7 separate regions of the Homo sapiens genome follow, and all the other regions are linked to region 4. Evidence: promoter capture Hi-C in 16 types of primary human blood cells and fetal thymus (Javierre and others, 2016). All regions are on one chromosome and are shown on one strand. Each heading gives the region's core, a stretch centred on a gene start or on the middle of the fragment in contact. The rest is flanking DNA. Distances are from core to core; before and after follow the strand shown.

What was found. The method cuts DNA at HindIII sites, captures the fragments that hold promoters and counts their contacts. A CHiCAGO score of 5 or more calls a contact.
Region 1: a contact is called between a fragment that was not itself captured here and the fragment with the promoter of CUL2 in region 4, in 15 of 17 cell types (naive CD4 T cells, activated CD4 T cells, total CD8 T cells and 12 more). The highest score is 19.7, in naive CD4 T cells.
Region 2: a contact is called between a fragment that was not itself captured here and the fragment with the promoter of CUL2 in region 4, in 1 of 17 cell types (fetal thymus). The highest score is 5.4, in fetal thymus.
Region 3: a contact is called between a fragment that was not itself captured here and the fragment with the promoter of CUL2 in region 4, in 14 of 17 cell types (activated CD4 T cells, neutrophils, naive CD4 T cells and 11 more). The highest score is 21.5, in activated CD4 T cells.
Region 5: a contact is called between a fragment that was not itself captured here and the fragment with the promoter of CUL2 in region 4, in 8 of 17 cell types (activated CD4 T cells, neutrophils, monocytes and 5 more). The highest score is 9.7, in activated CD4 T cells.
Region 6: a fragment that was not itself captured here is called in contact with the fragment with the promoter of CUL2 in region 4 in 5 of 17 cell types (fetal thymus, megakaryocytes, M2 macrophages and 2 more); the score reaches 12.7 in fetal thymus.
Region 7: a contact is called between a fragment that was not itself captured here and the fragment with the promoter of CUL2 in region 4, in 10 of 17 cell types (naive CD4 T cells, total CD8 T cells, naive CD8 T cells and 7 more). The highest score is 9.9, in naive CD4 T cells.

The regions. Positions count from the first base shown.
Region 1 is chr10:35,563,387-35,566,719 of GRCh38, reverse strand. CCNY (cyclin Y) reads right to left here. Exons shown (of 10, transcript NM_145012.6): 9 at 535-697. Among named protein-coding and RNA genes, the nearest start is that of GJD4, 40 kb to the left of the region's middle. RefSeq lists enhancers at 1,669-1,748, 2,019-2,128, 2,189-2,298. The HindIII fragment of the contact is 2,906 bases long and covers 543-3,333 here.
Region 2 is chr10:34,645,277-34,648,485 of GRCh38, reverse strand. All of the region lies in intron 2 of PARD3 (par-3 family cell polarity regulator), which reads left to right. Among named protein-coding and RNA genes, the nearest start is that of PARD3, 170 kb to the left of the region's middle. The HindIII fragment of the contact is 1,254 bases long and covers 900-2,153 here.
Region 3 is chr10:35,538,864-35,542,011 of GRCh38, reverse strand. The region is part of intron 7 of CCNY (cyclin Y); the gene reads right to left. Among named protein-coding and RNA genes, the nearest start is that of GJD4, 65 kb to the left of the region's middle. The HindIII fragment of the contact is 992 bases long and covers 860-1,851 here.
Region 4 is chr10:35,088,789-35,091,815 of GRCh38, reverse strand. CUL2 (cullin 2) reads left to right here and starts at 1,475. Exons shown (of 21, transcript NM_003591.4): 1 at 1,475-1,637. RefSeq lists an enhancer at 1,055-1,194 and silencers at 1,113-1,301, 1,355-1,554, 1,575-1,704. The HindIII fragment of the contact is 6,346 bases long and covers 1,139-3,027 here.
Region 5 is chr10:35,586,628-35,589,694 of GRCh38, reverse strand. No RefSeq gene overlaps it. Among named protein-coding and RNA genes, the nearest start is that of GJD4, 17 kb to the left of the region's middle. The HindIII fragment of the contact is 6,824 bases long and covers 1-3,067 here.
Region 6 is chr10:34,661,761-34,664,714 of GRCh38, reverse strand. The region is part of intron 2 of PARD3 (par-3 family cell polarity regulator); the gene reads left to right. It also overlaps the pseudogene RPL37P18. Among named protein-coding and RNA genes, the nearest start is that of PARD3, 150 kb to the left of the region's middle. The HindIII fragment of the contact is 6,127 bases long and covers 1-2,954 here.
Region 7 is chr10:35,510,006-35,513,377 of GRCh38, reverse strand. The region is part of intron 3 of CCNY (cyclin Y); the gene reads right to left. Among named protein-coding and RNA genes, the nearest start is that of GJD4, 94 kb to the left of the region's middle. The HindIII fragment of the contact is 1,769 bases long and covers 871-2,639 here.

The DNA of each region.
Region 1 (3,333 bases), core at 746-3,245, 470 kb before region 4:
AACCCAAAAAAACAAAAAACCTTTGCTTATTAAGTATAAAGTGATATTAAACTGGTTATTAAAAATATGAAGTGGCTGGCCAGGCACAGCGGCTCACGTCTGTAATCCCAGCACTTTGGGAGGCCAAGGCAGGCAGATCACCTGAGGTCAGGAGTTTGAGACCAGCCTGGCCAACATTGTGAAACCCCATCTCTACTAAAAATACAAAAAATCAACCGGGTGTGGTGGCAGGCACCTGTAATCCCAGCTACTTGAGAGGCTGAAGCAGAATTGCTTTAACTCGGGAGGCAGAGACTGCAATGGGCCAAGATCGCACCACTGTACTCCAGGCTGGGTGACAGAGCGAGACTCCGTCTCAAAGAAAAAAGAAGCAGAACAAATCATAATCAACTGCCCAGCTATATATCCTAGTAGCTCATCTTTATTTTACATCATGTAGTGGGGGAAATGATCAATGTGACCACATGCATCTCTGGTACTCAGATGATGTATTGGCAACACTGCACCACAAAACGCTGTTTTAAACCATCTTACCTCAAGCTTGTGAGCCCTCTCCCTGCTCAGGGGCTCCAAGGGAAAGCTCAGGTTGTTCGCTTCTGCCAGAGAACGAAGATCAAAATAATACTTGGCATAGACACTGGAAGGAACATTGATGTTGAACTGCAGCAATTCAAGAAACTGTCGCTCTAGCTCGTTCCTGCAAAGCAAAGACAAAAATAGCCTATGCTTAGCTGCCACACCAGGCCACGTGGCCTGCCAAGGCAAGTTGCTGGAGACCAGACTCCAGAAAACTGCATCCTCCAGGAAGACCAGTGATCTAAGTAAATGTCTGGTTAGACCACCATATTGGGATTAAAAGCCAAATCCACTTGATCTGGTGCCCAGAAGGATGAGGACTGGTTAACTGGGATCATCACCAGGAAGCGTTTCAGGGCGAATCACTTCACTGAGATCTAACACACACACAGCAGGCTCTGGCTGCAGGTCTCCGTGAGGACAGGCTGCTAACAAAGGGTGGATGCAGCAGCCAAGAGCTGCCACGTGGAGTCCAGTGAGGGCCCTTCCGCAGGGGCCCAGAGGAAAACACTCAGCCTCTGCAGACCTAGAGGACATTGGCTTCCTCGGTGGCCCCTCCCTACCTCCAGGGAGAAAAGAAGGGAGGAACTGTGTAGGGGCTTTCTTAGGCAAAAGGCAGGGATTATGGGGGGAGGGTGTCCAGTCTCTGCCTCAGTCTCTTAAAAAGAGAACTCACAAGCCGGGAAGAATGGAAGCAGTAGTTTCCACACTTGAGCACGCACCCCATCACCTGGTGGGCTTGTTAGAACAGACAGGGGGCTCCACCTTCACACTGTGGGGATCAGTAGGTCTGCAGTGGGGCCTGAGAATGTGCATTTCTAAGGAACTCCCAGATGATGGTGAGGCTGAGGCTCTTGCCCCGGGCCCACACTCTGAGAACCACTCAACTAAAAAGGTAGGTTGGGAGAGGAGGTGCTAAGATCCACCCTGCCAACCCATCTACATGTTGATGGAATGCTGGGAGAAATTCAAAAACTTCTACTTTAAGAACTTCTCATGTCAGCTATCTTTCAAATTAGGTTTATTTCTAGATAGTTCCTCTGGGTGGGGGGAACCTTCTCAGTGAGGGAACTATCTGTGGAGCACTGGTCCTGGGTCATGCACTCAGATTCAGCACGTTCTCCCCAGGAAGCCCCCAGGGGTGCCCACCCACAGGGTGCCCACCCACTGCACACCCTCCAGGAAACCTCCTGTCCTTGCCCACACTATGCAGCATGTGGCTGCTGAACTCAGCCTCTTGGGCTGTTCTCCTCATAGTCAGGAAGTGCAACATCTGCTTTTGCATGCCTGGCCCCCAGCACATGATCTCAGAAGGCTTCCCACAGCAGTGAGAGCTGAACTGAGGTGAGGGAAGCATGGAGCTCTGGCGGAGAGGAACCAGGGCTGAGGAGGGGGTGTTTCAGGCAGAGTGGGTCCCCTCCAACCTGCTGCAGGCAGCCAAAACACACAGTCACCATTTCCTGTGAGTGAAGCCAGGGCCCTAGTGCAGGGCCTCACCCTCCTGACCCTGATCCCAGCCTCGGCATTCTAAGTCATGTCCTGCCAACTCTGCTGAACGCTGAGGGTCTGGGTCTGAGCCTCACATGCAGGCACCATCCTGTCCTGAGTGATGTCCCGAGACCCCTATGGCTGTTCCCGGTGACTCATAGCACTCAGCTATGAAGGACTGAGGAGGGCTCCACACCAGCTCAAGTTGCTGTGACAAAGGACAAGAACAGTAAGGAGGCGGGTGGGGAGGCTGGGGCTGAGCAAGGCCAGTGGCTCTGGGGAGACATGAAGCTGCTGGGGAAAGGAGCACTGGGACCTGTGGGCAGGCGGCAAGGAAGGAGGCCCGAGGAAGGCCCATTCCGGTCTCTTCATCAGATGAAGAGCGTCACTGCTTGTTTCCACACAGCCTCGTGAAAAGAGTGATAACAAGCTCCAAATGTATTTACTGTACTAAATTTCATAGTTTTAAGAATTTAGGCTGGGTGTGGTCACTCACACCTGTAATCTCAGCACTTTGGGAGGCTGAGGCGGGTGGATCACCTGAGTTTAGGAGTTTGAGACCAGCCTGGCCAACAGGGTGAAACCTCGTCTCTACTAAAAATACAAAGAAAATTAGCCGGGCATGGTGGCACATGCCTATAATTCAAGCTACTCAGGAGGCTGAGGCAGGGGAATCACTTGAACCCGGGAGGTGGAGGTTGAAGCGAGCCAAGATTGCGCCATTGCACTCCAGCCTGGACTACAAGAGCGAAACTCTGTCTCAAAAAAAAAAAAAAAAAATTAGTCAGGCATGGTGGTGGGCACCTCTAATATCCCAGCTACTCAGGAGGGTGAGGCAGGAGAATCACTTGAACCCAGGAGGCGGAAGTTGCAGTGAGCCGAGATTGCCCCACTGCACTCCAGCCTGGGCAACGAGAGCGAAACTCTGTCCCAAAAATAAATAAATAAATAATAATTTACTTTGATTTGGGATAATTTTTACTTAAAACAACTTTTATTTATGCTTCATTTAAATGAGATTTAATAAGAGATCATCCTGTGAAATACTGGAATCCAGGTAAGACTTCAACAAAACGAAAGCGTCAGAGGCCCTGCTAAGGCCAGAACTGTCAAACGTCAAAGGAGCAAATCCCAAGTGAACCTGGGAGCTGCCATGGACACACCGCCGTCTGGTGGTCAACAGGCGTCACTGCAAAGCGTATTCTCCCAATAGTAAGAAGAAAAGTCTAAGAGAACAGCCTGATAATCCTGCCCAAAATGATATACAGA
Region 2 (3,209 bases), core at 277-2,776, 440 kb after region 4:
TCTTACATGAAACTGGTCCTTGTTGCCAAAAAAAAGTTGGGGGCCACTGGTTTAGATCTTGCAGTATTGTGAAGTAATTTTTGGTCTTCTGAGAGACTCCAAGCAGCACACCAGCATGAAAAGATGAGCCATTCACGGCAGCTCTTGGCATTGGTTTTAAGATGAAATACATCAATATTAAAAATAACTATAAAACATTCATGAAAGTTTTTGGAGTTTCTTTGAAGAATGTCTTTGAAGCTGACTTAACATTATTGCATTTATTACAGTTGCTCTGCAGTTCAACTGGGCTTTATAGGTTTGCATCTGGGGTTCACATATGCATTTTAAGACGAGGTTTGAGTCTGTTTGTATAAATCAAATGCAGTCCTCAGACTCATGTGCAGGCCGCATGGCGATCCCGGGATGAAGTAGATATTTCTATTTATAAACAGATTCCTGAGTACTTCAGATATTATTTGTATGTTGGACTCCTGTCTAGAATTGGCACATATCTACATGTACAGAGAAGAATAATGAAATGTCAGGGGTCTCACTGCACCCTCCTCTTTGATCCCATTCTCTGAGGTTTTAATTTGGGCCCAGGAAGCAGCACTTAAATATCCCTACTCCAGCTGCTAGCTTCAAACAATACAAAGCTAGGCTTCCAAATATATTTATCATTTCTTGGTTGAATATTTGCAAAAACTGACCTACCCTACGATTTCTCTCAAATAGGCCTTAGCAACTACAAATATGGATGAGAAGATAGAAAGGGAAGCTTTATGTTTGCTTGCATTTTAGCTAAAAGATAATTAGAAGTGCAATTTAAGTTATGATAATGGAAAAAAAGAGCTACACGTTAAGTGTGGTGCATTGACTGCATCGAGAAAAGGTGCAGTCTAAAGCCCAGCAAAGCTTAAAAGAGAAAAACTAGAAAAAAAGAACTTTTTGGAATATAAACTGTGACAGATTTTTTGTATTTTCTGTGGGCTTGAAAAGTCCTTAACGTTTTCGTTGTTACTGCCCTGGTACTATTTATGTGTTAGAATACAGAACAACTTTAAATTTGTGGAGTCTTATCAGTAGGACTGCTGGCTTTGCGAAACCCGTGCAAAACGGACACTTTGAAGTGACCTTCCCTGTTTAACTCATCCGCTCCTCCCTTCAGTGAGTACATACTACTGTGTGCGGTGTGCTCTTCCAGATGCTGGGATGCAGTAGTGAATGGAGACAAAGCCCCTGTCCTCATGGGCTTAGACTCCAGCTTATGACTTGTTGTTTATAATAAATAATGAACATTGTGAGGTTATTCACAGGAAGGGATGAATAATGGATGGATCTTCAAAACGTGATTCTGGTTAACTACAGACATCCTGAAGTTCCAGGTATAAAAAGCCTTCTTTAAAGCATACTATAGCAGTCAGAATGAATGAGTAGTTAATAAAGCTCTTTGCTGAAATAAAAGCAAATATGTTCACACTTCCAAAAAATAAATACCCAAGTGGGAGTTGTATGGTTCTGATGTCAAACATGTTATGAGACCATCAGAGGTATATGGAAATTTGGGGAGGAAGACAGTAATTATATAAAAGTGCATGCAAGCCTGGGCAATATAGGGAGACCCTGTCAGCCTGCAAAAAAATAATGATAATAAAAAATCGTAGCTGAAGGTGGTGGCATATACCTGTGGGTCCCAGCTGCTTGGGAGGCTAAGGTAGAATCACTAAGGAGAATCACTTGGGGCAGGGAAGTGGTGGCTGCAGTGAGCTATGATTGTGCTATTGCACTCCAGCCTGGGCGACAGAACGAGACCTTGTCTCACGCACACGAAAAGCAATTACTGAATTAGAGATGTGATGTGGGAAACGCTCCCATCTAAGTAATGACCAAGAATATTCCGTGATAGAGATGAAGTCTTAGCAGGACTTCCCTCTCAGGTTATTAGTGGTGATGATCCTGCTTTGTTTTATTACCTTATTACTATTATGCTCTCTGAGGTATGAAGTGATATTAATCTGTTTGCAGTGAGAAATAACACTTTATAGCATTGCTATCATTTAAACATATTAAAATATGTTGTAATGCAGAAAAACACCCTGGGGAGAGAGGTGAAAACTTAGGAGTTTAATTTGAAATGCAGTTGGGAAATTATTTGGACAGCAGAGAAAGCTTTAGGGCAAAATTTCAGTAATAAAGTATATTATTTTCTAAATTATTCATCAGGGAGTTGAGTTTGTTTTTCATGTACCTGGACTTAATCACGATTACAAAAAAATGCTTAGCTAATTGTAGTCATTCATCTATACTAATCCAAAAACAAAAATGAGGAGTTATTGATGGTTTTTATTTAGGTAAAACAATTTATTTGACTGTGAGTGGTTACATATGATAACCATATATTCAGTTATTTCTAACTTGCCTGTTTTGTGAAGAATGCTATTTTGTGACTGTTCCTGCGTCTCGCTATGTTTTGGGGGTTCTGGCCTAGTTCCTACAACATATACTCTTATCCCGGTTCTGTGTTGTCCTGGTGATTCTCCCAAGAGCTAATCAGTTAAAGAGATTTTCTTTTCCATTTTGGATTTTAGCTTGGAGTTTTACTCTTAGTAGTAAAATGGTATCTAAAAATAAAACGGGGAAGAATTAGAACATGTCAGATATAGTAACACGTTTTAATAATTTGCTCTAAAAATCTGCTCATCAGCTGATAACCTTTCGTTTGTCCACATGTCTGCTTTTTAAAACGCTTGGTTTCTTAATATCCCAGTGAGAACAGGCACCTGCAGAGATACTTAGTTGCTCCCAGCCGCAGCTGCAGAGCGACTTCTAGATTCTGCGTATCTTGGTTTATTTCATGCTGTTTTCTTTAAGCCATACTGTCTGCTGGTCAGATGGTAAGAGATACCTGTTTTGGAAAATTTGGTAAATAATCCAGGGTTACAAGTAAATTTAGCATAATGTAGAGGCTTTATTTTGCTCATTTAAAATATGTAGTCTTGGCCAGGCACAGTGGATCACACCTGTAATCCCAGCACTTTGGGAGGCTGAGGCAGGTGGATCACTTGACGTCAGGAGTTCGAGACCAGCCTGGTCAACACGATGAAACCCCGTCTCTACTAATAATACAAAAATTAGTTGGGCGTGGTGGTATGCGCCTGTAATTCCAGCTACTGGGGAGGCTGAGGCATGAGAATCTCTTGAACCTGGGAGGTAGAGGTTACAGTGAG
Region 3 (3,148 bases), core at 106-2,605, 450 kb before region 4:
TGGGTAATGACCACTAGATACAATATGGTGTCCTGGATGGGATCCTAAAGAAAAAAAGGGATGCTGGGTAACGACAACTAGACACAATATGGTGTCCTGGATGGGATCCTAAAGAAGAAAAGGGATGCTGGATAATGACAACTAGATACAACATGGTGTCCTGGATGGGATCCTAAAGAAGAAAAGGGATGCTGGGTAATGACAACTAGATACAAGATGGTGTCTTGGATGGGATCCTAAAGAAGAAAAGGGATGCTGGGTAAAAACTAAGTAAACTGGAGTAAAAATGAACTTCAGTTAATAATAATATATGGGCAGGTATGGTGGCTCACACCTGTAATCCTAGCACTCTGGGAGGCCGAGGAGGAAGAGTCACTTGACGACAGGAGTTCAAAGCCGGCCTGGGCAACACAGCAAGACCCAGTCTCTACAAAATATTTTTAAAAATTAAGCAAGTATGAAGGTGCACAGCTGTAGTTCCAGTTACTCAGGAGGCTGCAGGGACAGGATCACTTGAGCACAGGAGTTTGAGACTGCAGAGAGCCATGAATGGTGCCAATGCACTCTAGCCAGGGCAACAGAATGAGATCCGTCGCAAAAATAATAGAATAATAATAACCAGTATCAGTTCATTAAGTGTAACAAACAGCTCACACTAAGATACTAAATTATGTACATTATATAATTTTATAATATTATAGATGTTAAAAATAAACTGGATGTGGGATTTATAGGAACTCTGCTTTCTTCACAATTTTTATGTAAATCTAAAACTAATTTAAAACAAAAGTTTATTAAAAAATACATCTATGGAAATGAAAGTATAACCCAGCAAAATTTATGCAATGCAACTAAAGCTTAGAAATTCATAACTGTAGATGCCTGTATTAAAAAAAAATCTCAAATCAATAACCTAACTTTCCACATTAAGCAACTAGAAGAGCAAACTGAAACCAAAGTAAGTAGAAGGAAGGAAGTAATCGACATTAAAGTGGAAAGAAATGAAATAGAAATACTAAAACGAGAGAAAATCAATGAAACTGAAAGTCGATTCCTTGGAAAAAACAACAAAATTCAAAAACCTGAAGGTAGACCAACCAAGAAAAAGAGAGATGGCTCAAATAAGTAAAATCAGAAACAAAACAGAGGACATTATAGACTTTACAGAAATAAAAAGAATCATAAAGGAATACTGTGGAACAACTGCATGACAACAAATTGGGTAATGCTGATGAAATGCACAAATTCCTAGAAAAACACAAACTACTGCAACTGACTCAAGAAGAGATAACCTGAATAGACCTATAAGAAACAAGCGAAGAGACTGATTAGTAATGTAGAAACTTCCAACAGAGAAAAACCCTGACCAACATGGCTTCAGTGATAAATTCTACCAAACATTTAAATGAGAATACCAACCTTCCACAAACTCTTCAAAAAAAAAAAAGTAGAAGGAATATTTCTCAATTTGTTCTATGAGGCTACTATTACCCTGATACCAAAACCAAAGCTATCACAAGACCAAATTCCTTACAAATATGGATGTAATTATCAACAAAAGACTAGCAAACTGAGTCCAGCGACATATAAAAAGAATTATACACTGTGACCAACTGGGAATTATCCCGGAATGCGGGGTTGATTTAACATATTAATAGAACAAAAGACAAAAACTACATGATCAATCACAATAGATGCAGAAAAGCATTTAACAGAATCTAATACCCTTTCAAAATAAAAACACTACACAAATTAAGAATACAAGGAAACTTCCTCAATTGATAAAGGACATCTACAAAAAACTCACAGCACACAGCACACAGAACATTTAATGGAGAAGAATGGAAAGCTTCACACCTAATATCAATAACAAGACAAGGATGTGCACTCGTGATACTTCTATTCAACACTTTACTAGAGGTACTAACTGTGGCAACTAGGCAAGAAAACCAAATAAAAGGCATCCATAATGAAAAGGAAGAAGTAAAACTATCTCTATTTGCAGGTGATCTTCCCATGTAACATTCTAAAGAATCTACTGAAAAAATTATTAGAATAAATGAATTCAGCAATGTGGCAGGGTACAAGATCAATCTATAAAAATAAATTGTATTTCTATAGTCTAGCAATAAACCACCAAAAATGAAATTAAGAAAACAATTCAATTTATAACAGCATGCAAAAGAGTTAAATACTTAGGAATAAATTTCCTTTTCTTTTTTATTTGAGACAAAGTCTCACTCTGTCACCAGGCTGGAGTGCAGTGGCGCAATCTTGGCTCACTGCAACCTCTGCCTCCCGGGTTCAAGCGATTCTCCTGCCTCAGCCTCCCGAGTAGCTGGGACTACAGATGCATGTCACCACACCCAGCTAATTTTTGTGTTTTTAGTAGAGATGGGGTTTCACCATATTGGCCAGGATGGTCTCGATCTCTTGACCTCGTGACCCACCCTCCTCAGCCTCCCAAACTGCTGGGATTACAGGCGTGAGCCACTGCACCCTGCCCCTAGGAATAAATTTAACAAAAGAAGTGTCAGATTTGTATACTGAAAACTATAGAAAAACGTTGACAAAATGAAAGAAAATCTAAATAAATAGAAAGATATTCCATGTTAGAAGAGATTTGAATGCTTAATATTGCTAAGACTGCAATACTTCCCAAACTGATCTACATAGTCAATGCAATTCCTACTAAAATCCCAAAATTTTTGAGGTGGTGGGTGCTGACAGAAATTGACAAGCTAATTCTAATGTTCATAGGGAAATGCAAGGATCATGGATGGCATGGCCAAAACAACACTGACAGAGAAAAAGCTGGAGACTCATACTTTCCAATTTCAACTTCAAATCTATGGTAATCAAGATAGTGTAGTACTGATATAAGGAAATACATATAGATAAATGGAACAAAATTGAAAACCCAGATATAAACCTTCATGTTTATGGTCAAGTGATTTTTGACAAGGGTGACAAGACAGTTCAATGGGGAAAGGATAAAGGCACTGGGACAACTGGATATCCAAATGCACAAGAACGAATGTGGACCCCTAACTCACAAAAATTAGCTCAAAATGAATGATAGACCTAAATTTAAGAGCTACATTTATAAAACTCCTAAAGGAAGATATAGGGGTAAATCATCATGACC
Region 4 (3,027 bases), core at 226-2,725:
AAACCCTGTCTCTACAAAATACAAAAAATTAGCCGGGTGTGGTGGCGGGCTTCTGTAATACCAGCTACTCGGGAAGCTGAGACAGGAGAATCACTTGAACCCGGGAGGTGCAGGTTGCAGTGAGCTGAGATTGTGCCGCCACTGCATTCCAGCCTGGGTGACAGAGCAAGACTCTGTATCCAAAAAAAAAAAGGACCAGACATATTGCATTGTTAACAAACTAGTTGTTAACCTTATGACCTCTGTAAAGGTCTCAGGGATTTCCAGAGGTCTGGGGACCACACTTTGAGAATCACTAGATTAAAAGGGGGAAAACATGGGAGGAAAAAAAGGTCACATAATGGAAACATACTGTTGGATTGAATTTCGTATATAAAAACCCTTTACTGAAATAAAGAGTAGAGACTTCAAGTACCAAGAGAAGCAGATTAGAAGAGGAGGAAGGCTCTAGGGACTGATCAGGTCTGGAGGCAGGGTTTTAAATGGGCCTTGAAGGGTTCGTGCAGTTTGGAAGGAAGGGATGGGAGGGAAAAGCTTGCTGAATCGTATAAATGAACAAGACCCTGATGGTGAGCTCTTGAGGATATGAAAGGCAAAAAGCACTAAGGCCGGGCTTTTGTTCCTCTGTGGCCCTGCATATATGAGGAGGTGATGAGTAATTCTATATTTTTATCAGCTTTACCGTTTAAAACTCCAAGGGAGGAAAACCCTTCAAACTGATAGGCTTGGGGCTTGGTGAAGGTGGGGTATTAGTGAAAAAGATGTGAAGTTTCTTTATCGAAAATACATGTATGTCCAAGAAATTCTCTGTAGATAAAAACTAACAAGAAAAAGAGTTTGTCAGAGAGGAAAAGTAGTTTTGCTAATTTATTTTTGATCATTTGCAAAGCCCATGGAAGTGTGTGGCAAGAGGATTGTGGTGTCTTAGGATATTCACATAGGTCTGAAACAAGGAAAACATACTTCTGTTGAAAGCACCATTCCAACATATTGTTATTAGCAGTCCCTGAACTAACGGGTAGTGGGTGGGTACTGTGTCCATCAGCTCAGCGAACCGCAATTGCCTCATTGACAGCAAGCCCAGCAAGGAATCACTTGGAATATTAATTTCCGTGGCCTTTCGCAATCACACGAAGCTTGGCTCCCTGCGCTTGCCGTAACGCGGCCTGTACCATTGCTTTCCGGGTGGCGGGGGGGATTTGGCAGCAGCGGAAGAAGGAGACCGGAGGGTGTGTGTTGGGCAAAGCCGGAGGCAGAGGAGGACGATTGTTTTACGGATCCCGTGATCGGCCCGTCCTTCTCCCCTTTCCCCCCCTCCCTACCGCCCCTGTCCCGCCGGGGAGCGGCGGCGGCCTTGGACTTTGCTGTCTTTCCTCGCGGAGACAGGTGAGTGTCGGCGCGCGGGCTCCCCGGGCTTCGCTCCCCACCCCCCGCGTCTCCGGGGCCGGTGGCGGCGGCCGGCCGGGGAGGCGGCCTCGGCGCACAGTAATGGCAGCGCTGTGAGCAGGGGAACGCGAGCTGACAGCCGCCGCCGCCGCCGCCTCCGCCCACCTTCCTCGCCGGGGCTTCGTCTTTCACTCCTTCGGGCTGCCTCCCCCTCCCCTTGTCCCCTGCCCCTTGCCCTGCTTCTGCAGAAGGTAACCCCGCTGAGGGTCGGGGAGCCGGGCTGCAGGCGCCGGGAAACTTCCCTTCCCGGTTAATGGGTGGCGGGGCTGGGGCGGAGGAGAGGAGTTGGGGGCGACGAGGTGTGGGGAGAGGGATGAAAGGGGGAGGCCCGGGAAGATGGTATCCTGTAAGTGACCTCGGCTCCCCAGAGCGCTGACCCGTAAGCCCTGCCACCCCCTGGACTGGATCCCGGGCCTCCCCAACCCGATCTTGGCCGCCTCTCCCGCGGCCCCATTTTCCTTCGAAGGAGGGAAGGTGAGAGTGCGTGTATTCTTCTACATATTTACGTGCTCACACGAATACACAACTCTGTGTGTTTGTGTGTGTGTGTGGGGGGGGGCATCTCATGCATCCTTACCCCGAGTGTTTTCACTTTTGTTTCCGCAGACTGCAAAGATTGATAGCTTTGGGGAGGAGTATCCTACGTGCATGCTAGACTTCTTGTCTCAACCCTTAGGGTCTGGTGAAATAAGATCCTCACACGCTTTCTAGCACTTGCTTACCCTCTAGAGAGTCTGGACCATTCCCTACCATTACGTGCATGCAAATAAAACATCTGTGAATTGCAGACTGTTATTAATGTTAAGTCCACATCTTTGCCCCATGGATTAATATTAACAGTTGAAGGCCAGTACCCTGGGCGTTTAAATTTTGAAGATAAGATGCAAAATATTAACGTTCGCTATAGATTGTGACTGTTCAACATAAACGTCTTTGAACTAGACCTGGCCAAGCCTACCTTCGTAGTAAAGTATCGGAAATAATCACTTTGATCTGATTGACAACTGACTACATAATAATCGCTTAAAAACATTCAAAACACTGTTGCCTACCCTTTAGAATCTTACATTCCTTTTCAAGACAGACACATGAACAAATGAGCTATACTTTGCTTCTTTTGCCCTTATACAGTATCTGGAAGATCCTTCCAAAAGAGTCGCGTGAGATAAGAGAAGTACACAGTTTTTTTGTTTTGAGATGGAGTTTTGCTCTTGTCACCCAGGCTGGAGTGCAGTGGTGCGATCTCGGCTCACTGCAACCTCCGCCTCCCGGGTTCAAGCAATTCTTCTGCCTTAGCCTTCCATGTAGCTGGGATTACTGGCATGCGCCACCATGCCCGGCTAATTTTGTATTTTTAGTGGAGATGGGGTTTCACCATGTTGGCCAGGCTGGTCTTGAACTCCTGACCTCAGGTGATTCGCCTGCTTAGGCCTCCCAAAGTGCTGGGATTACAGGCCTGAGCTACTGCGCCCAGCCCACAGTGTTTTGAATTACTTGTTTTTTTCAATTGCTGTTTATGAGTTGGGGGAACATTTCTACAATGTGCATGCACATAGCGTGGGAAAAATTCCTTTTCAATTG
Region 5 (3,067 bases), core at 165-2,664, 500 kb before region 4:
CTCTCTTCCCTTCAGATTGCAAATCAAAACTTGATGGCCTCCTATGATTGTGAAAATATTTTAACTTAACAACTGAAACAAATATAAAGTTCTCAAAGGAAGCAGTGAATTTTGGCACTGGAATGAAAGTAGGTATAGAGTGCTGGAGAGTCCAAAGAGTTGAGCCTGTTTCTAAAGCTGGGCCGGGTGCAGTGGCTCACACCTGCAATCCCAACACTTAGGGAGGCTGAGACTGGAGGATCACTTGAGCCCAGGAGTTTGACAGCAGCCTGTGCAACATGGCAAAGCTCCACCTCTACAAAAAATACAAATAAAAAGAAATTAGCCAGTGTGGTGGTGCATGCTTGTCATCTCAGCTACTCAGGAGGCTGAGGTGGGAGGATCACTTGAGCCCAGGAGGTCGAGGCTACAGTGAGCCATGATCATGCCATTGCATTCCAGCCTGGGTGACAGAGCAAGACTCTGTCTTAAACAACAAACAAACAAAAACAAAAACAAAAAACAGCAACAACAACAAAAATAAAATACTTGAGCTGAGCTGATTGATACAGCTACTGCACTGTAGCTCCATTAGCTTCTGCAGCAAAATGCCTTCCTCTGTGCAGTTTATGACATCAATAAATAATTGACCCTAAAAGCAACAGGTGTGGAGTTCTTCCTTCTATTTCTAACTTCTTACTTAGCTGTTAAAAAACAAAACCCATGCTGTTGCCAGAGTGATCAAAAACAGAAGGTCTTTTTCTGACAAAAGACAGATGGGTTGAAATTAACTGTGCCTTTGTTTATGTCATTTTGGTTTTGGCTCAGTTTGTTGTTGTTGTTTTTTAAGCTCTTATTCAATGAAAGCCTTAGCAATGAACTGAAACAGGATGGAAATTGCAGGGCATTTCTACCATTTCTCAGGAACAACCAAACTCTAAAAGCAGTTGCTTTCTGTTTCTCTCTCTTTTCTGTTAAATTGGATACTGAGGCAAACCAGGAGCTGAAGATATCCAAAGTTCTCTCAGAGTACAGCACTTTCAATATGGCCATTGGGAGCCATTATTTAAGGGAGCAAGGACAGGATATGCATGAGCTTCTGACAGTAACTACACAGATATGCTTCTTCTCTTTGGAGCTGAGAGGAGAAAAGGATGGTTTCGGGCAAGAATTCCTTTCAGCCCCCACAGGAGGTCATTTTCTGTTCCTGCACTTACAGCTCCATCCACCATTTTCCTTAGTGTAAGGGGGGGCAGCTCAGAAGGAGTTAACAGCAACTTGGGAGGCTGAAGCAGGAGGATTGCTTGAGCCCAGAGTTCAAGACCAGCCTGGGCAACATAGCAAGACCTCCATCTCTACAAAAAATAGAAAAACAAGTTAGCCAGGCGTGGTAGTACATGCCTGTAGTCCCAGCTACTCAGGAGGCTGAGGCAGGAGGATTGCTTGAGCTCAGGGGTTCAAGGCTGCAGTGAGCTATGACCATGCCACTGTACTCCAATCTGGGCAACAGAGGGAGAACTTGTCTCTTAGGAAAAAAAAATGTGGTAACACTCGCTGATTCTGGGGCTGGTAGCAGATACAGGAGCCAGTCGAGACCTGAGGGGTGGGGTGTGTGTCCTGATCCACACACTCACAATGAGGATGTGCCCAGAGCCAGGGTGGGCCTGGGCCTGCTGTTGGGTGGAGCCCTAACTAGGAATGGTCCTGGGACCTCAAGGAGCCCTGCACGCCGGGCCACATTGTACTGGGCCCCATCTTCCTTCATGTGAGCCTTGCCTTCTTTCTGTTCCCTGACTGCCACTCTAAAGTGCAACCTAGAGAGGGAGACAGCTCAGATGACCTTAGCTATGACAACACCAGCAACTGACAGAGATGGAGAGGGAGGGGTGTTCTCTTCAGATGGAGAGGTACATGCAGAAAGAAAACCACATGGCTGGCTGGGTGCAGTGGCTCAAGCCTATAATCCCAGCCCTTTGGGAGGCCAAGGCAGGTGGATCACCTGAGGTCAGGAGTTCAAGACCAGCCTTGGCCAACATGGTGAAACCCCATCTCTACTAAAAATACAAAAAATTAGCTGGGTGTGGTGGTGGGCACCTGTAATCGCAGCTACTCGGGAGGCTAAGGCAGGAGAATTGCTTGAACCTGGGAGGTAGAGGTTGCAGTGAGCCTACATCGTGCCACTGCACTCCAGCCTGGGCAACAGAGTGAGACTCCATCTCAAAAAAAAAAAAAAGAAAAGAAAAGAAAAAGAAAACCACATGGCCACGGCCACCTAAGTATTTGTAGTCTCAGGAGAGAGGACAGAGAGAGAGAGAGAGAGAGAGAGAGAGAGAGAGAGAGAGAGAGAGAGAGAGAGAGAGACAGACAGAACTCCCAGACAGAACTGGTTGATTCAGAGAGGACTTCGGAAATCACTGGCTTGACTCCTTCAGACATCAAGAGCAAAAATGAAGCTGAGAAAAGTGCTGTAGGCTGAACAAGTCCCCCCAACATTCATCTGCTAACGTCCTAACCCACAGAACCTCAGAACGTGCCTATATTTGGAGACAGGGTCTTTTAAGAGGTAATGAAGCTAAAATGAGCCCATTAGGGTGAGCCCTAATACAATCTGACTGGTGTCCTAAGAAGAAGAGATTACGACCAGAGAGAGACACCAGGGAGGTGCGTGCACAGGGAAGATGCTACAGGCACCGGGGGAAGCCGCCATCTGCGAACCAAGGAGAGAGTCCTCGGGAGAGACCAACGGTGCCCACACCTTTGTCTCGGCTTTCTGGCCTCCAGGACAGTGAGAGGGTGTTTCTGCTGCAGAAGACGCCCAGTCTCTGAGGTATTCTGTTCTTGTAGCCCTAGCAGAAAGTGAGGGAATTTGCCCAAGATCACAGAAGAATCTGGACTCAGAGCTGCCTCTTCCAGGACCGTGGTCTTTCCATTTAACCCAGAGCTGACCACACACACACACACACACACACACACACACACACACGTAGGTACATGCAGGAGCCTCACACTTCCAGAGGGTGTTTTTTGTATAGTCCTCTGAAGGCACAGGGACCTCTGAGGGAGGAAATTGTGTGAAATTCAAGCAATA
Region 6 (2,954 bases), core at 98-2,597, 430 kb after region 4:
CAGGAGTTCGAGACCAGCCTGGCCAACATGGTGAAACCCTGTCTCTACTAAAAATACAAAAATTAGCTGGGTGTGGTGGCACATGCCTGTAATCCCAGCTACCCAGGAGGCTGAGGCAGGAGAATCTCTGGAACCCGGGAGGCAGAGGCTGCTGTGAGCTGAGATACCACCGCACTCCAGCCCGGGCAACACAGGGAGACACCTTCTCAAAAAAGGCCAGGTGCAGTGGCTTACGCCTATAATCCCAGCACTTTGGGAGGCTGAGGTGGGCGGATCACAAGGTCAGGATTTTGAGACCAGCCTGACCAACATGGTGAAACCCCACCTCTACTAAAAATACAAAAATGAGCCGGGCCTGGGGGTGCACACCTGTAATCCCAGCTACTTGGTAGGCTGAGGCAGGAGAATCGCTTGAACCTGGGAGGTGGAGGTTGCAGTGAGCCGAGATCACGCTACTGCACTCCAGCCTGGGCAACAGTTCGAGACTCTGTCTCAAAAGAAAAAAGAAAAAGGTTTTCGATTGCCTTTGCTATTGATTCAGACAGTGACATAACCAAATATATTAAAAAGAACTCCCACCTCTGGTCTCTTTGGTCTCGGCGGCAGAAGCGAGATGAGGAAGGGAGTGTCATCCTTAGGGAAACATCGCAGCTGGACACACTCCCTGTGCTGCTGCGGCCCTGAGGCCCCAACCTGCTAAGCCAAGAGAAGGCAGAACTGGAGTGCCAAGGCGAAAAGACGAAGCAACACCAGGGCTGGTTGAATGAGGCGCCTAAACATTGTACACTACAGATTCAGGCCTGGGCTCCGTGAAGGACAGCACCCAGACCCAAGGGCCAGCTACTGCACCTCATCTTCAGAATTTCAGTGATTGGTCATGGAATACATGTTCTGTTTTTTTTTTTCTTTTAAAGAATTCTTTGGGAATAACAAAAACTGAGGGGGAAATGAAAAGTTTTGTGGATGAATAGAAGAATGACACAGCTTCTTTAAAATGTTTGACACTTCTGGAACCTCTGAAGCATAAACAGGGTGCCACCCCACTGTGTTCAGTGGGCCTGTCAGCTCCATCTTCGTCTAAAATCAGATGCTTGGAAGTAGAGAAGGAACTTTTTTTAAAAATTTTTTATTTTTGTGGATACGTATTAGGTGTGTATATTTATGGGGCATAAGAAATATTTCGGTACAGGCATGTGATGACTAATAACCACATGAGATTAAGTGGGATATCTACCCCAAGCATTTATCCTTCGTGTTACAAAGCTCTGTTGCCCAGGCTGGAGTGCAATGGTGCGATCTCCTCTCACTGCAATCTCCGCCTCCCGAGTTCAAGCAATTCTCCTGCCTCAGCCTCCCGAGTAGCTAAGATTACAGGCATGCACTACTACGCCTGGCTATTTTTTTTGTATTTTTAGTAGAGATGGGGCTTTGCCATGTTGCCCGGGCTGGTCTTGAACTCCTGAGCTCAGGCAATCTACCCGCCCTGGCCCTCCCAAAGTGCTAGGATTACAGGCATGAGCCTCTGCACCTGGCCTCTTTTAGTTATTTTAAATGTACAATGAAATTATTGTTGCCTATAGTCACCCTGCTCTGCTAGGAAATATTAGTTCTTATTCATTCTTTCTAACTGTATTTTTGTACTCATTAACTCCACTCCCCTGCTCCCAGCCCCACACCCTTCCCAGCCTCTGGTAACCATCATCTACTCTCTATTTCCATGATTTCAGTTGTTTTAATTTTTAGCTCCCACAAATGAGTGAGAACATGCAATGTTTGTCTTTCTGTGCCTGGCTTGTTTCACTTAAGATGATGATCTTCAGTTTGATTCTTTTTTTTTTTTTTTCTGAGACAGTTTCTCACTGTCACCCAGGCTGGAGTGCAGTGGCACTATCTCACCTCACTGCAACATTGGTCTCCCAGGTTCAAGGGATTCTCTTGCCCCAGCCTCCCGAGTAGCTGGAATTACAGGCATCTAATACCACGCTGGGCTAATTTTTGTATTTTTAGTAGAGATGGGGTTTCACCATGTTGGCCAGGCTGGTCTCAAACTCCTGGTTCAAGTGATCCTCTCACCTCTGCCTCCCAAAGTGCTGGGATTACAGGTGCGAGCCATCGCACCTGGCTGATCTCATTCTTTTTTATGGCTGAATAGTACTCCATTGTGTGTATGTACCAGATTTTCTTTATTCATTCATCTGTTGATGGAAACTTAGTTTGCTTCCAAATCTTGGCTATTGTGAATAGTGCTGCAATGAACATAGGAGTGCAGATACCTCTTTGATGTACTGATTTCCTTTCTTTAGGTTATATACCCAGCAGTGTGATTGCTGGATCATGTGATAGCTCTATTTTTAGTTTTTAAGGAACCTCCAAATGGTTTTCTATTGTGGTTGTACTAATTTACATTCCTACCAACAGTGTATGAGGTTTTCTTTTTCTCCACATCCTTGCCAGCCTTTGTTATTACCTGTCTTTTGGGTAAAAGCCATTTTAACTGTGGTGAGATGATATCTCATTGTAGTTTTGATTTGCATTTTTCTGATGATGGGTGATGTTGGGGAAAGGGAACATTTTGAGAATGAGGAATACTGATGAAAGGGCCAGAAGTTCATTTTAGGCACTCCGAGATGTCAGCCGAGCAGTTGTCTTAAGTAGCTCCCTGCCCAGTAGTAGCCTTCACGGTTAGGCCTGCAGGTCAAAGGAGCAGAATTTAACCATCTCCCCAGGGTGCTTACATGCAGGATCTGGCTGCAGGACCTTCTTTCCAGTGGGGCTTTCAAGGTAGAAATCTGCCTCTTTCTTGGACTGCTGCACTACTCCATGATTGGGAACCTTTATCTAACATTGATTGGATAAAATGCCCCACCTTCCACACTGAAGGGCTTGTCTCAAAGTCAGAGCCTCTTATCTCATTTACTGTCTGGGCGGTCCCTCCTTTGACAGCTGTTTTGCCC
Region 7 (3,372 bases), core at 506-3,005, 420 kb before region 4:
AGAAAGATTGTCCCAAATACAGTAAGTGTCTTGGTGAGAGCGCAGATACTACAGAGTTAACCACGAACTGCTTAGAAGGGGAGCCTGATGAGTGAGAAGCCCAATTATGAATTATTCTAAAGAAATAAAATTTATATCTTTGAAATAATGTGAACCTTACAGATTAAGCTATGAATATGCAGAATAATCGAATTTTAGAGCTAGACTGAAGCAAGGTCATTTAGTCCATGTATTCACACAATGTCTATAGTACAAAATATGATTTACATCAAGGTCCATTAATATACAAAAATTGTTGAATGATATATTTAAGAAGATTTTATTGAAGAGTTATCATGTGTCCCAAATAATGAGATTATCCCCTTAGATAATTCCAATACTGATGTCTGTCAGATACAAAGATACATGGATACACACATGTACATGCACACACAAACATACGATCAAAGCGCAGGATGATGAGGAGGAGGAAGCAGGGATAAGACTTCCACTGGACCTTCCACAATGACCCCAAATCTTCCTCCCAACTATTTCAACTGCTCCCACCCGCGACACCTCCTCAAATCCTCCACCCATCACCATGCTGAGCTCCCCACAGGGAGTTTGAGTCACAGAACCCAGAGGCCACCAGACAGCGTCCCCTCAACCTTCTTGCCTCTTTCTTGGCAAATCGGTCATCCCTCCCCCTACCTGGAGTAGAAGCCCTAACTCTCTTCAGGCCAGAACTAATTAGTCCCTCGGCTTCTTCAAAATGTCTTTCTGAATTCGCTCAACCTCCACACTCCCTCCCCATTCACAAAAAACTCTAAGTCCGCTATGCAGATGGGTCCTCTGCAGTCCTCCTACCAATTTGATATTTGAACTGAAGCTTTTTTCTTTCTGGGGTTTCCTCCTTGCTTTCCCCCATCTTTCTGGCTACTCAGTCGCAGTCCCTTTGTGGACTCTGCTTCTCTGAATTTCCTCAAATGTAATGGTCTTTTCTTCTTCCTCTAAACACTTTCCCAGGGGACTCTCACCCACTCTCATTAATTCAACTTCCTTCTCCCCTCTGTTGGGTCCCAAATCTCTCCTTTCTGGCCCCAACTTCTCTTCTGAGCTCACTACTTGCCTGGTTGACCCCTCCATCTCAATGTTCCTCATGGGTACCTCAAATGCCAAACTAATTTGTTCCTCTAATCAACTGTAATGGCTTAAAACCAGAAATCCACAAAATATTCTTGAATTTTGTTTTCCTTTCTGTTGGTTTCCTTGTATCAAGTGCTATCGATTCTATTCCAAGTACATTTCCACATCATCCTTTCCCTTGCACCCCTCTAGCCACTATCTGGTATATGAAAGCCACGTGGACTCTCACCTGTATCACTACAGTAACCACCTTGCCTCGAGGCTCACTCCTCTCTAAACCATTCTTCTTCAAGTGCTACTGTCACCTTAATACAAAGCAAATCAGATCGTGTTGCCTCCCTGCCTAGATGGTTCTGACGTTCTCCACTGGGGAGAGACACACGAGTCAACTCTCCATCTCTCCAGGTTCACGGTTCACTTCCTCTTTCCCTGCACACCACACTTGGACATAATTCAAAGATGAAAGGAACAACGGCCACTTTTATTTAATGGCCATCAAAGATGAACCCACAGTGTTCTGGGTTACTTTACGTGTATTCACTTAGAGCTCACAAACATTCAGAGCCCTGCACTGCAGGGTAGAATTCCCATTTTACAGACAAGGAGATCAGAGAAATGAAGTAGCATTTCCAACACCAAATCTAAGACACCAGAGCTTAAAGCCATGTTTGTCTGACTACCAAGTCCGTGCCTCCCTCTCTGGGGTTCTGCAGCCCTTCCCTTGAGCTGTTCATTCCTAAACCTTCTTGTACAATACCCTACAGACCTTTTCCCCTCCCTGACTCCACTCATCCTTCAGCACTCTGCTGACAGTGCTTCCTCTAGATGCCTTCCTACCACCAGACCACCTGGGCTGGGTACCCCTCTGTGTGTTCTATGCCCGTGTTCACCCTCCACAGCACCAGTCACTCTCCATTGTCATTTCTGGCTCACTTTTCTATATGTCTCCGGGGTCTAGACTGCAGGTGTCTTGGAGGTACAGACTGGTATTTTCTTGAATCAGCAAATGAAGAACAGCTCCATCCCGGGACTAGAGTGCTCACTGCCCCCAACTGTGGGAAGTCGTCTGCCTCCATTATGGCACAGGATCCTCTGTGAGGGAGACCACAGTGTGGCCACAGCAGCTGTGTTACGGCAGAAAGGGGCATGCTGTGTGGCAATGAGCTGGCCGCAGGGGCCTGCACCATTGGGCAGTGAAATGCTGACACGTTCCGAACACATGAAGTGAGGCATGGCAGGCAGATCAAGGAGCCAAGTTCATGTGGACGAGACACTCCAGACAGGCAGGGCAGGAGCACAGTGGAGTCAGAAAGCCCAGTGCTTGGCTGCAGCTCTGCCACTGACGAGTTGTGTAAATGTGGGCAAGTTACTTACAGAGGACAATCACACATCCTGGCTTGATCAGGACAGCCGTAGTTTGTCCCTGTTGTCCTAGAATAACCAATAATAGTAACCCCTTTCGTAATTAATTAAAATGTATAAGCCTATCACCTTAGGCTTAGCCTCCCCAAGCTTCAATGTCTTCATCAATAAAATTCAGATACAGAACCTGTCCTTCATTGTGGTGCTGTGAAGAATAACACCTGTAAAGTGCCTAGCACGTACATGAACTGAATAAATATTAAGTCATTTAACACTTAAGAGTCTCTAGGCTTTAACTTCCCATTTTCAATGACTGTCTTACTACTTCTTAGAAAGGTTTGTTAGGATCAAAAAAAAGCATTAAATAATGTAAGGCCCAGGCATGGTAGCTCATGCCTATAATTCCAGCACTTTGGGAAGCCCAAGTGGGAGAATCAATTGAGCCCAGGAGTTCGAGACCAACCTGAGCCATACAGCAAGACCTCATCTCTACAAAAAATAGAAATAAATTAGCCAGGTGTGGTGATGCATGCCTGTGGTGCCAGCTACCCAGGAGGCTGAGGCAGGAAGATCGGTTGGGCCCAGGAAGTCAAGACTGCTGTGAGCCATGATTGTGCCACTACACTCCACCCTGAGTGACAGAGTGAAACCTTGTCTCACAAATAAATAAATAAATAAAATGAAGTATTATTATTAGAGGAAAAGAAGGAGTAAAAGTTTGTGAAAAGAAGTGATATAAATGAAATCTCTAAATATGAAAGCTCCACAATTTTTTTTAATCTTAAGGAGGGCAAACTATGACCTTGATAGAGGAGGCAGGTTTTGGTCTGCAGCCTCCTCGGGCCACAGAGAACTGGCCACTTGCACTGGCATTCCTTGACTAGG